Regions from separate parts of the Homo sapiens genome. Here region 2 is linked to region 1. Evidence: promoter capture Hi-C in human tissues and cell types (Jung and others, 2019). All regions are on one chromosome and are shown on one strand. Each heading gives the region's core, a stretch centred on a gene start or on the middle of the fragment in contact. The rest is flanking DNA. Distances are from core to core; before and after follow the strand shown.

Region 1 (7,430 bases), core at 2,851-5,350:
TTACTTGAGGGGGAGATGGAGGAGAAAGGCAAGGGCTGAAAAACTACCTATTGGGTACCATGCTCACTATCTAGTTGATGGAATCATTTTACCCCAAAACTCAGTGTCTCACAATATACCCATGTAAAAAATCTGCACATATACTCTCTGAATCTAAAATTAAAAATTATAAAATTAAATATCTAATAGCTTAATTCTACTAGAAATTAATCTACTTATTTATAATATAGAATTATAAAAACTTTATAGCGAGGGTCTGAACTGATCATATTAACAGAAATTTTTCAAAATGGTTAGGAATCATCCTTATACAATAACTACTTTCTCAATTTCTCTACTGTGCCACAAAAACCAAGCTATGCAAATAAAATCCATTAGAGCTCTACCAATCTAAAAGCAATTGAAAATTAGTATATTTTCTACATTTTTTTCTTTAACCTTTGCATTTGACTCAAATGAGTTTAAGGATTTTGTATTTTTAATATTGTTTTTATTAAATCTGTTCTAGAAATAAATTTATCATCTCTGGAGAATAGTCTCTATTTTCAGACTATTTGTTGGACTAAACCAAGGTTGCACTGGTATTATTTCAGTAAAACTTCAAAACCTTACCAAAATCCTTTCAGGATACTTTAAGATTGAATTACATTTCAATAAATATTAATTACCCTAAGAAAGAAAAGAAAATTATAATATTCTTATTCTCTCATCCTTTTTTGTTTATTAGTTGGAATTCTATGAAGAGAAATTTGTCTTTACTCTGTAATAACTCTAAGGAAAGAATGGAATAGAAAAGCTAGGATAAACACACAATTTCTCCCTAAATACCACTAGTTTTAAATCTATTAATATTTAAGTTGTGTTTAGAATTACTCCAAAGTGACCATGTGATGTTTTAATAGTGTTTTTAACTCATAAATTTTGTGATTTTATATGTTTCAACCATTACTATTTTATATGTTTCAACCATTACAATTATTCTTACCAATGCTCAAACTTTCCTATATTTGATTAGCAGAAACCTGTTCAGGCTGGCTTCTGAATCCTATTGGCACAATGTAGTCTTCAAGGCATCCCAGCTCTTTTTTATGACAAGATATTCCAGGCCTATCTTATATCTTTACACCTGGTATTAGTCACATATCAAGGATCCATGGTGCTTTTATTTATGGTGCTAGTTGCACTTATTACTACTTAGTTGATCATTGTTTCTAGACCTTTTCAGTGGAGAGAGCTAATACACACACACGTAGATATCTATATCTATCTATATCTATATCTGTATCTACATATCTCCTGTATATATGTATACATTTTTCCAGACTGAAAAACTCAACTCAAATTTGGGTATACAAAATATTCCCTAACCTCATTGGATCTTATATTATAGATTATATTTAAAGCCATGACACCAGATAAGGTCATTAAGGAAGTAAATATAGACAGCAAAGAAGATATTCCACAGACTGAATTTTGGAATATTCTAGCAATGAAGACTAAGAGCAAATGACCACTGAAGTAGGAGGAAAACCAGGGGTGTGTGGTGAAACCAAGTGAATAAAATGTATCAAAGAGAAGGGCACATTAATGACATACAATTCTGCTAATACATCAATTAAAATGAGGTCTGGATATTGATCACTGGATTTATTAGTGTGAATGCCTTTAATGTTCTTGATGAAAATATTTGCATTGGAGTGGTAAAGGCAAAACCTGATTAGAGTTGGTGAAAAATGAACTGGAGGAGAGGAAATATATACAAGGAATGTGACTAAAGTTTGGGCTTAGAAACATGGACTGTAGGAGCAAGAAGGAAGACAGCTAATAGCAATGTACATTTGGGTAGAGAGTAGATGTCATGAGGACAGAGTATAATATTTCTCCTGATATTTCTGTTTAGTTAGTGAATTTCCTAGACAAGATCATCAGCTAATAATCAGGGTGCAGCCAGAAATGAAGATTTGAGAGAGGTAAAGTGATTGGGTCATTAAAAAGTATTACGTCTAGCAATGCCTCTATGACTCAGTGAGTTTAGTGGTTATAAATATAAAATAAGCCCTAAGGGCATGTTACTGAGTTGTTCTTCAATCACTTAAAACAGTGCGGATGCAAATACTAAGAAGAAAGAAAGTGGATTTATCTGAGGTGAGCTTTGCCTGGGAAGATCAATAAATTGAAAGAGAAACAGGAGAATTGAGGGTATACAGAAGGAAGTGATTAAAATAATTGCATGAAAAAATTCAAGTAAGGAGGAAAATGAAAATATGAGTGTACTGGCTTGAATTGTGTCTCCCAAAAAGATATGAGGAAGTCCTAACCCCCGGTACCTGTGAATGTCACCTTTCCTGAAAAGAGAGTCTTAGCAGACCTTATCAAGTTAAGATGAGGTCATGAGGGTGGTCCCCAGCCAAAGATGACTAGCGTTTTTTTAAGTACAGAGGACAGAGACATAAAGGGAGAAGATGGCCATGTGGTAACAGAAGCAGCTGTTGGAGTGATACACCTATAAAACAAGGAGTTCAGGCTGTCAGCAAACACCAGGAGGTGGAAGAGGTAAGGAGGATTCTTCCCTACAGGTCTCAGAGGGAGCATGGCTCTGCTGACACCTTGATTTTTGACTTCTGGCCTCCAAAAGTGTGAGACAATAAAGTTCTGTTTTAGGTCACTCAGCTTGTAGTACTTTGTTAGTGCAGTCTTAGGAAATGCATTCATTTATATGTTGTCTGTGGTTAATTTACCACCAGAATGGCAGAGGTGAGTGGTTGTGATAGAGATTGCATGGTCCTACAAAACCTAAAATATTTCTTATTTGTCCCTTTATAGAAGTTTGTTAACTCCCTCATCTAGAGTTTGGAAATGGGAATGAAAGGCTGAAGTAGGCTACAATCCAATGCAAGGTTGCACATAAGAAGCTCTGAATAAGTGTAAACATTATGTGCATTCAAAACAGTAACATTAACTGTGGACTCTGGAAATAAGAAAAGGAATCGTGTTGGAGAGTGAGACTGAGCCAGTTGGGAATAGACAAAATTACATTCTCAAGGGAGAATTTCATTTCTTGGTGAGGAAAATTATGCCCTTTGGGCTGGTAAATACTGTCTCCTCTTGAATAAAACAGTGGTCTGGCCACCTGTTAGACACTGAGAAGTCTAGACTAACACTCAATGTATTCGGATGTTTGCTCACTATTTCCGATGGAAAAGTCTGGTTTGATTGTTAAAGTAAAATATTTGGCCTTTCAGAGTGTGAAAACACCATTGCTTCATTGCAAGGTTTAATATAAACCCATTTTTCTTGCATTTTCTTTTCTTTCTTTTGTAGTAAAATGTGCTTGAATAATATTAACTATTCTGACCATTATGTGAACTAAATATATATATATATAAAATGATGATACCTTCCGCTCATTTGCAATGTGCTTTTGAATACATTATATAATTTAATCCTTAAAACAGCCCTATAAATCTGTTTTTTTTTTTTTTAAACAAAAAAATTCTGCTTTACAAAGGAAGAAGTTGAGACTCAGTAAAATTAAGTGACCATCCCAGAGTCTCAGCCACTTAAGAGTAGGGTGAATCTTGGATAATTCTGGTAGCAAATTTATTTATTGGTAGAAAATAAATGCAAACTACTACTGCTTAAGATCCTCTAAAGTTTTTCTCTTGGAAAAAGAATGTATTAGAATTGTGGACTTTCTCAGTGCAAGGATTTATTTATCCTTGGAATTAGGCAGAATAAACAATTGAATGCCAAAAATTCAACGTGTTTCTTTTCTGTTTTCAAAACTCATAGAAATTGTAAATATGAGCAACTGATCATGTCTCTGAGAATTAACTCTTTTTGTACAGAGCGCTGCAGAGCTTTGATTGTGACCTGATACTTGGTCCTTAAAGATTCTAGAACACCAATGGAAAAGAAAACCATGTAGCAAATTAGCCCAAGAACCGTTAAAGACAAAACAAAACAAACCAAAACCAAAACACACAAACAAAGAAAACACAAGGATCCCAGTGATGTCCCTAAGGAATAGTTGGCTTAAAAACTTTCTGGAAGGAGGAGGGGTCTCTGTTATAAACTTCCGCCCTCCTCTGGCTTCTGTTCCTTACCCTCTGCCCCCTGCGGAGTTGTGTTTTCTGGGAATCAGCAAGTAAGATCACAAGTGGTCTTTTCTTTTATTCACTCTCTCCCATAAAGAAAGCTTTATCACGTGTGGCCTTAAACTTGCAGCAAATTGCAAAGAAATGGCTCAAAAGCTTCAGCTCTTTCTGTGCCCTGGGAGCTGAGATGCACGTCAGTGGCCTTGCCAGCGTGGCCAATTCTCTGCTGACTGCCAGAAAAAAGAGGCCAGGAAGAAAGAGGAAAGAGAAGAGATCGCTCAGGGGTGAGACCATGCCCTTCATCTTTTCTTTTCCCTAATCTCCTCTGCTTGTGTCCACCCACACTCTCCCCACCTGGCAAAATTGTTCAAAATTGCTGTGGAGTTTACCTCAGTTTCCTCTTTCAGTCTGTGGTGTGTGGTCCATCCTCTTGCTGAGCACATTGAAAGGAACTGGCTATCTTTGATCTCTTCCTCCAGGTAAGACTTGGTTCTCTCATTTTATATTTTGTGACTAATACATCAGATTCTTATGGGAGATTAACCCTTAATTTCTGTGCGATTTATGTTTTATCCATAAAAATATCAGTGAAAGGTGATGATCCCCTCATTAGTTTGATGGAAATAAGAGAGAAGATTGGTTAAAGAAATCAGATAAACTCAAATTTGAGTTCAAATTTTGAGTCTCATGCTTATAAATTGTTTAGCTTTTGACAAGTCACTTAATTGCTTTGGGCCATCTAATTTAAAAAATGGAATTCTAATATTACGTTTGTTGGGTTGTTTTAAGGATTAGAAAAAGTACGTACATTACTCAACACAAAAATAGTACTTATTAAATCTGAATCTGACACAGATAATTTGTATTAGGTGAGAAATTAGTTTCTAAACAACACACACTCCTCTGCAGCAAGTGCCGTGAGGCTATTTTTTAGTTTGTCTGAAGGGAGGCATCCTGGTGTCCAGAAGTCAAGCCAGGACAGAGGTTTTCCTCACAGGAGATGGCCAAGAGAAGAGAGGGAGGAGCGTGGTTGCCTTTAGGACTTTCTCTGTGGCAGTCCTTGGGGACTGATTGCTGGACAGAGTCCGAGTCAGTTGCAGAGCAGAGGGGTTGAGTACATCTGCGGGATCTAACTACAACCTTCCTAAGCCACTTGCTCTCTCCATTTAAAATCTGGAGGGCTGATTTTGAAACTAATGAGGACTGATTATTCAATGTTTTTGAACCAAAGGAAGAGAAACTGCTTGGCTTGTTTTTCTTTGGCCTCCAGAATAAGTTATGCTCCAAACCCAGGGTATTGGATGAAAACTGTCGTATGTCTTTTCCTGGAAGAATCTATTCAAGTGGCCAGAGATCAATTAAGGATTTGCCAAATGCAAATAATTCTGAATAACTGTGTACTCTTGCTCTACTTCTGCAGTTGCAAATGAAGAGAGAGAGCCTGCAGGCCCCAAGGATCTTTCCGTTCATGTCATTGAGCTTCCTTCCCTCTCTTTTTACAGGGGATGAACTGTAGCCTCCTTGGAACATACTACACTTGCAATAATTTGCGCATTAACCATCAAGACACTTCAGTAAAGCTATGCAGTGCCAATAGTTTAAGCTGGATCCTATTTTGCCCTAACACAAAGTGAACTGAGATGACTATATTTATATTTCATTATACTTTTGAATTTTAGTTACAGTGATTTTTGTGTCAACACCTCCATATATTAGATAACTTAAAATGTGCTATAGTATCTCAAGTTTTTCAGTAGTGTTTTTAACATAATTATTTTTTCTCTTTGACATTAGCATTCTAGATGTAACACTTTGGATCTTTTAAAGATAAATTTAGGATAAATGATAGCAGATTTTATTATTAAACAATTTATTTGTATTTTCTGGTCACTGACTTTAATATTATGACTGATGAGAAATAATATGATATCTGAATCCCCAAAAACAGAAGGCCAATTTGAATTATATAATTTAATCCTTTGAAGAATATTGCAATTTAAGCCAGAAATTTAATAATTATCCGTTTCTTATTTTAAAACCTTTCTGGTTTGTATATCTCTTGCTTGGCAATATTTTTACTCATAGTTTTGTAGTAAAGATACCTATTTAACATTGTATAACTCTGCATTTCCCAAACCCTGTTTTCCTTGTCCTGGCAAAATACTGTTCTAGAAAAGTAGTCCTAGTGACTCAGTAGATATAGGAAGTTGGCTGTTGGTATCAGATACTGTTAAGGAAGAATCTCTATATTCTTCATTTCTTAAACTTTGTTTTTTAAATCAGTAATAGATGTCGAATTTTATCAACTGATGTTTTTCATGTAATGAAATTCTATTTTTTATTTTGAATTATTCATGTGGTAATTTAGGTGAATAAATTTCCTGTAATTAACCAATTGTTGCATCTTTTAGAATAATTCTAATCATAGAGCAAGAGTTAATTTGGATTTGCTAGCATTTACTTAGAATTTTTATAATCTATGGGCTTGATCTGAAGTTTTCCTTTCTGTGCTATCTTTGTGCTGTTTTGTTACCAAGATAATGTTATTTTTGTCAAACTAATGGAGACAATGATTATCTGTTTCCATTATCGGCTATCTTTCCTCAAAGAATATCCCTTGATAAAGCACTTCTGGTGCATCATCTATCCTTAGTATCTTTGTTTAGGGAATAGTTTCAGAGTATTTTTGATAATGTCTTTCTTGGCTATTTTCTCTTCTGGTTTTTATCAATATAGGTAATGAATATTTGCTAGAAACTTATCCATTAAGTCAAGATATTAAACTTACTTCAACATTCGATGCATCTTTTTATGTTTTATACTCCTAAATATCTGTGTTTTATCTCATTAATATTATGTATTTATATCTTTGTTTTTTGTCTTGATTAACATTATTAGCTCTTTGTTTTGCTTATTTTTTGTTTTTAAATTTTTCTCTTTCACTCACTCTTCTTTTTCAATTAAAAAATTAAAGTTATGAATGCTTATAAAATGAATCCAAAAGCCTAATAATAATTTTTTTGAAACCAGACCCTTGTCTCATCCTTTCCTTTAGTCAATTCCCACTCCCTAGAGGAATCCACTTAATTTTTAAATTGTTGAAGTCCTCTGATGTTTTAACTTCATATTATTAATACAAAGCAAATCGTTTATACTATTACTTGATTTTTCAGTTTGAGAAAGTATGAATTGAAATGGTGAGGGATGAGGTTTAGTGAACACAAAACAAGCATTGCATAAAGTCAAGGTGATATACTCAGTCAGAATAGATTTCTGCCACAATACATGAAATTTGACTCCTAACATTATTCCTTTAGGAATAACATTATTCCA
Region 2 (7,430 bases), core at 3,093-5,592, 92 kb after region 1:
TGGTGGGTTCATGGTCTCGCTGGCTCAGGAGTGAAGCTGCAGGCCTTTGCGGTGAGTGTTACAGCTCTTAAGGTGGTGCGTCTGGAGTTGTTCATTCTTCCTGGTGGGCTTGTGGTCTCACTGGCTTCAGGAGTGAAGCTGCAGACTTTCACTGTGAGTGTTACAGCTCATAAAGGCAGTGTGGACCCAAAGAGTGAGCAGTAGCAAGATTTATTGCAAAGAGCAAAAGAACAAAGCTTCCACAGTGTGGAAGGGGACCTGAATGGGTTGCCACTGCTGGCTTGGGCAGCCTGCTTTTATTCTCTTATCTGGCCCCACCTACATCCTGCTGATTGGTAGAGCTGAGTGGTCTGTTTTGACAGGGCGCTGATTGGTGCGTTTACAATCCCTGAGCTAGACACAAAAGTTCTCCATGTCCTTACTAGATTAGCTAGATACAGAGTGTCGACATAAAGGTTCTCCAAGGCCCCACCAGAATAGCCAGATACAGTGTCAATTGGTGCATTCACAAACCCTGAGCTAGACACAGGGTACTGATTGGTGTATTTACAAACCTTGAGCTAGATACAGAGTGCTGATTGGTGTATTTACAATCCCTGGGCTAGACATAAAGGTTCTCCATGTCCCCACCAGACTCAGGAGCCTAGCTGGCTTCACCCAGTGGATCTTGCACTGGGGTTGCAGGTGGAGCTGCCTGCCAGTCCCGTGCTGTGCGCCTGCACTCCTCAACTCTTGGGTGGTAGATGGGACTGGGCACCATGGAGCAGGGGGCGGCACTCATCAGGGAGGCTCTGGCCACACAGGAGCCCATGGAGTGGGTGGGAGGCTCAGGCATGGTAGGCTGCAGGTCCTGAGCCCTGCCCTGCAGGAAGGCAGCTAAGGCCTGGTGAGAAATCGAGCACAGCGCCAGTGGGCTGGCACTGCTGGGGGACCTAGTACACCCTCTGCAGCTGTTGGCCTGGGTGCTAAGCCTCTCATTGCCTGGGGCCAGCAGGGCTGGCTGACTGCTCTGAGTGCAGGGCCCGCCAAGCCCATGACTACCTGGAACTCCAGCTGGCCCGCAAGCACTGTATGCAGCCCCGGTTCCCGCTCGCGCCTCTCCCTCCACACCTCCCTGCAAGCTGAGGGATCCAGCTCCAGCCTTGGCCAGCCCAGAAAGGGGCTCCCACAGTGCAGCGGTGGGCTGAAGCACTCCTCAAGTGCTGCCAAAGTGGGATCCCAGGCAGAGGAGGTGCCGAGAGTGAGCGAGGGCTGTGAGGACTGCCAGCACGCTGTCATCTCTCAATACTTTTTTTAAAAAAAGTATTTTTAATTTTTTGGGTACCTAGTAGGTAGATAAATTTATAGGGTACATGAGATATTTTGGTACAGGCATACAATGCATGATAATCACATCATGGAAAATGGAATATCTGTCCTCTCAAACATGTATCATGTGTGTTAACATACCATCCATTAGTTATTTCAAAATGTACAATCAAATTATTATTGACTATAGTCCCCTACTGTGCTATCAAACACTAGGTCATCTTGATTCTTTTATTTTTTTTCTACCCATTAAACATTGCCACCTCACTCATTGCTTCCCCCTTCCCCACCAACTTCTGGTAACCATCCTTCCATTCTCCATCTCTGTCAGTTCAAATGGTTTTGATTTTTTAGGTCCTACAGATAAGTGAGAACACGTGATATTTGACATTCTGTGCCTGGCTTATTTCACATAACATAATGACTTTTAGTTTCATCCATGTTATTGCAAATGATAGGATCTCATTCTTTTTGTATGGCTGAGTAGCACTCTATTGTGTATAAGTACCACATTCGTTTAATCCATTTGTTGGCTGATGGATACTTGGGTTGATTCCAAATCTTGGCTATTGTTAACAGTGCTACAACAAACGTGGGAATACAGGTATCTCTTCTATCAACTGACTTCCTTTCTTTGGGGTATAACAGGCCAAACAGTGGGATTGTTGGGTCATATGTTAGCTCTATTTTTAGTGTTCCAAGGAACTGCCAAACTGTTCTCCTTAGTGGTTATACTAATTTACACTTTCACCAATAGTGTATGAGGGTTCCCTTTTCTCCGCATCCTCACTAGCATTTGTTATTGCCTGACTTTTCAATAAAAGCCATTTTAACTGAGGTGTGGTGATATCTCATTGTAGTTTTGATCTGCATTTCTCTGATGATCAGTGATGTTGAGCACCTTTTCATATACCTGTGTGCTATTTGTATGTCTTCTTTTGAGAAATGTCTACTCAAATCTGCTTATTTGTAAAACAAATTATTAGATTTTTTCCTATAGAGTTATTTGAGCTCCTTATATATTCTATTAATCCCTTGTCAGATGAGTATCTTGCAAATACTTCTCTCATTCTGTGGGCTGTCTGTTCACGTTGTTGATTGTTTCCTTTGATGTGCAGATAGTTTTTAACTTGATGTGTTCACATTTGTCCATTTTTGCTTTTGTTGTCTGTGCTTGAGGGGTATTACTCAAGAAATTTTTGCCCAGACTAATGTCCCAGAGAGTTTCCCACTGTTTTCTTTTTTTAGTTTTATAGTATAAGGTCTTAGATTTAAATCTTTAATCCATTTTGATTTTATATTTATATAAGGAGGGAGATGGAGATCCAGTTTCATTCTTTTGCATATGGATAGCCAGGTTTCCCAGCACAGTTTATTGGAAAGACTGTCTTTTCCTCATTGTATTTCCATGGCATCTGATGTGTTTTGGCTCTGTGTCTCCACCCAAATCTCATCTTGTAGCTCCCATAATTCCTACATGCTGTGGAAGAAACCCAGTAGGAAATGATTGAATCATGGGGATGGGTCTGTGACCTGCTGTTCTTGTGATGGTGAATAAGTTGCATGAGATCTGATGGTTTTAAAAACAGAGTTTCCCTAAATAAGCTCTCTCTTTTTGTCTGCCACCATCCATCTAAGATGTGACTTGCTTTTCCTTGCCTTCCAATATGATTATGAAACCTCCCCAGCTATATGGAACTGTAAGTCCATTAAACCCTTTTACCTATATGAATTTCCCAGTCTCAGGTATGTTTTTATCAGCAGTATGAAATGGACTAATACAGTAAGTTGGTACCAGTAGAGTGGAGCGCTGCTGAAAAGATACCTGAATATGTGGAAGTGACATTGTAACTGTATAAAAGGCAGAGGATGGAACAGTTTGGAGGGCTCAGAAGACAGGAAAAGGTGGGAAAGTTTGGAACACTCTAGACACTTCTTGGATGGCTGATAAATGAAATGGACAATGACATTCAGGCTGAGGTGGTCTCAGATGGTGATGAGGAACTTGTTGGGAACTGGAGCAAAGATGACTCTTGTTATGTTTTAGTAAAGAGACTGGTGGCATTTTGCTCCTGCCCTAGAGATTTGTACAACTTTGAACTTGAGAGAGATGATTTAGGGTATCTGCCAGAAGACATTTATAAGCAACAAAGCATTCAAGATGTGACTTGGGTGCTGTTAAAGGCATTCAGTTTCAAAAGCAAAACAGAGCATAAAAGTTCAGAAAATGTGCAGCCTGACAATGCAGTAGAAAAGAAAATTCCATTTTCTGAGAAGAAATTCAAGCCAGCTGCAGAAATTTGCATAAGTAATGAGGAGTCAAATGTTAATCTCCAAAAAAAAATGGGGAAAATGTCTCAAGGGCATGTCAGAGACCTTTGAGGTAGCTCCTCCCATCACAGGCCCAAAGGCCTAGGAGGAAAAAATTGTTTCATGGGCTGGGCCCAGGGCCTCCCTACTGTGTGCACTCTAGGGACTTCATACTCTGTATTCCAGATGCTCCAGCCATGACTAAAGGGGTCAAGGCATAGCTCAGGTCATAGCTTCAGAGGGTGCAAGTGCGATCCCCAAGCCTTGGCAGCTTTCACATGCTATTGAGCCTGCAGGTGCACAGAAGTCAAGAATTGGGGTTTGGGAACCTCTGCCTAGATTTCAGAAGATGTATGGAAACACCTGGATGTCCAGGTAGAAGTTTGCTGCAGGTAGGACCCTCATAGAGAACCTCTGCTAGGGCAGTGTGAAAGGGAAATGTGGGGTTGGAGCCCTCACACAGAGTCCCTACTGGGACACCAACTACTAGAGCTGTGATGGTGAATGAATGTCACAAGATCTGATGGTTTTAAAAATGGGAATTTCCCTGCACAAGCTCTCTCTTTTTGCTGGCCACCACCCATGTAAGATGTGACTTGCTTCTCCTTGCCTTCTGCCATGATTATGAGGCCTCCCCGGCCATGTGGAACTGTAAGTCCATTAAACCCTTTCCTGTATAAATTACCCAGTCTCTGGTATGTTTTTATCAGCAGTGTGAAAATGAACTAATAGAGCATCTTTGTCAAAAATAGGTTAACTGTAGCTGTGTGGATTTCTACTTTTACTCCATTGTGGACAGAGAAGATGCTTGATATTATTTTAATTTTAGAATGTTTTGAGACTTGTTTTGTGACCTACCATCTAATCTATCCTTGAGAATGAACCATGTTTTGAAGAAAATAATGTGTATTCTGCAGCCCTTTGATAAAATGTTCTGTAAATATCTACTAGGTCCATTTATTCTATAGTGCAGATTAAGTCCAATATTTCTTTGTTGATTTTCTTTCTGGGAGATCTGCTCAATGCTGAAAGTGAGGCATTGAAGTCTCCAGCTGTTATTGTATTGGTGTCTAACTCTCTCTTTAGCTCTAATAATATTTTCCTTATAGATTTGGATGCTTCAGTGTTTCGTGCATATATATTTATAATCATTATATCCTCTTAAAGAATTGACCCCCTTATTAATACATAATTACCTTCTTTGTCTCTTCTTACAGTTCTTGTCTTGAAATCTATTTTGTCTGATACAAGTATAGATAATCCTGCTCTTTTTTTGGATTCCATTGACATGTAATATCTTTTTCTACCCTTTTATTTTCAATCTATGTGTATCTTCATAGGTGAAGTGTATTTCCTGTAGGACACAGGTCATTAGGTATTGTTCTTTCATCCATTCAGCCACTTTATGTGTTTTGATTGGAGAGTTTAGTTCATTTACATTCAATGCTATTATTGATGAGTAAGGACTTACTCCTATCATTTTATTATTTATTTTCTGATTGCTATGTGGTCTTCCCTTCTTTTCTTCCTTCCTATCTTCCTTTTAGTAAAGGTAATTTTCATTGGTGGTACACACTAATTTCTTGCTTTTTATTTTTTGTGTATCTGTTGTATGTTTTTTCATTTGAGTTTAACATGAAGCTTACAGATCCTATCTTATAACCCATTATTTAAACTGATGAAAACATAACACTGATTAGATAAACAAACAAACATGTAGAGAGGAAACTAATAAAAATTCTACACTTTAACTTTGTCTTCCCAATTTTTAACTTTTTGTTGTTTCTCTTTATGTCTTATGCTACTGTCTATGTGTTGAAATGTTGTAGTTATCATTTTTTATTCATTCATCATTTAGTCTTTCTATTTAAGTCGAGAAACTTACATATCACAATTACAGTGTTATACTAATCTATGATTTTCTATCTGTTTACTAGTACCAGTGATTTTTTTACCTTCTGATGATATCTTCTTGCTCATTGACACATTTTTCTTTTAGCATGAATAACTCCTATTAGCATTTCTTGTAGGACAGGTCTGGTGTTGATGAAATCCCTCAGCTTTCATTTCTTTGGGAAGGTCTTTGGGTTTTTTCATACTTACAGTATATTTTCACTGGACATACTATTCTAAGGTAAATGTTTTTTCTTTAAGCACTTTAAATATGTCATACCATTCTCTCCTGACCTGTAAAGTTTCCACTGAAAAGTCTGCTGAAAGAAATATTGGAACTCCATTGTATGTTATTTGTTTCATTTCTCTTGATGCTTTTAGGATCCTTTCTTTTTCCTTGACCTTTGACAGTTTGCTTATGAAATGCCTTGAGGTAATCTTCTTTGGGTTGAATCTGCTTGGTGTTCTATAACCTTCTTGTATTTGTATGTTGATATCTTTCACAATGTTTGGAAAGTTCTATGATTTTTTCCCTTTGAATAAACTTTCTACTTCTATTTCTTTCTCCACCTCCTCTTTAAGGACAATAACTCTTAGATTTATCCTTTTGGGGCTATTTTCTAGATCTTGTAGGCTTGCTTCATTGTTTCTCATTATTTTTTGTCTCCTCTGATTATGTATTTTCAAGTAGCCTATTTTCTAGCTCATGAATTCTTTCTTCAGTTTGATCAATTCTGTTGTTAAGAGACTGGTATATTCTTCATATCAGCTGCATTTTTTCACATCTGTAATTTCTACTTAATTCTTCTTAATTATTTCAATCTCTGTTAAATGTATCTGATAAAATTCTGAATTCATTCTCTGTGTTATCTTGAATTCCTTTTAGTTTCCTCTAAACAGCTATTTTGAATTATCTGCCTGAAAGGTCATATATCTATGTTTCTTCAAGATTGGTCCTTAGTGCCTTATCTAGTTGATTTGGTGAGGTTATGTTTTTCTAGATGGTGTTGATGCTTGTAGATGTTCTTTGGTGTCTGGACATTGAAGAATTAGGTATTTATTGTAATCTTCACAGTCTGGGCTTGTTTGTGCCTGTCCTTGGGAAAGCTTTCTAGGTGTTTCAACGGACTTGTGCCCCAGCCCAATGACACTGTGGTGTTTGCAGACTCATAGACGTACCACCTTGGTAGCCTTGGATAAGATCTGGAAGAATTCTCTGGATTACCAGGCAGAGACTCTTGTTCTTTTCCCTAACTTTCCCCCAAACATATGAGTCTCTCTTTCTGTGCTGAGTCACCTGGAACTGAAGCTATGGTGATTCAAGCATGCTGTTGCCACAACTGGGACTGTGCCTATTCAGACCCAAAGACAGCACAGCAGTGGGCTTTGTGCAAGGTCCTTTTCTTTATGGTGGTGAGTTTCCCCACGCTGTGGGCGTGTCTAGCAATGCTGTTTGGGAGCCAGGAATTGGAGTGAAAAAAATCTTAGTAATTTACCTGATGTTCTATTCTTCTGCAGCAAAATTGGAACTCAAACCACAATACAAAGCCCTTTCCACTCTTTTCTCTCCTTTCCACAGGCAGAGGTGTCTCTTCCTGTGGCCACCATCACCGCTAGTCTACAGGGATTTCTCCTAGGCCACCTCCCATGTTTGCTTAAAGCCCAAGAGTTCTTCCATCAGCTTGTGGTGAATACCGCCAAGCCCTAGGTCTCATTCTTCAAGGCAATGGGCTCCCCTCTGGCCCAGACAGGTCCAGAAATGCTGTCCAAGAGCCAGGCCTGGACTTGGGGACCCCAAGACCCTGCTTGTTGGTCTATCCCTCTATGGCTGAGCTGGTCCTAGAATGCAAGATGAAGGCCTATTTACTTTTCCCCCTGCTTTCCTCAAGAGAAGGAGTCCTTCATCTTTGTCACCACAG

What was found. Contacts are between HindIII fragments. The study calls those that stand out against the background at their distance.
Region 2: a contact is called between a fragment that was not itself captured here and the fragment with the promoter of SLCO1C1 in region 1, in 2 of the 25 tissues and cell types used here (liver and thymus).

Annotation. Positions count from the first base shown.
Region 1 is chr12:20,691,232-20,698,661 of GRCh38, forward strand. SLCO1C1 (solute carrier organic anion transporter family member 1C1) reads left to right here and starts at 4,101. Exons shown (of 15, transcript NM_017435.5): 1 at 4,101-4,576. The HindIII fragment of the contact is 14,433 bases long and covers 1-7,430 here.
Region 2 is chr12:20,783,062-20,790,491 of GRCh38, forward strand. No RefSeq gene overlaps it. Among named protein-coding and RNA genes, the nearest start is that of SLCO1B3, 24 kb to the right of the region's middle. The HindIII fragment of the contact is 3,191 bases long and covers 2,748-5,938 here.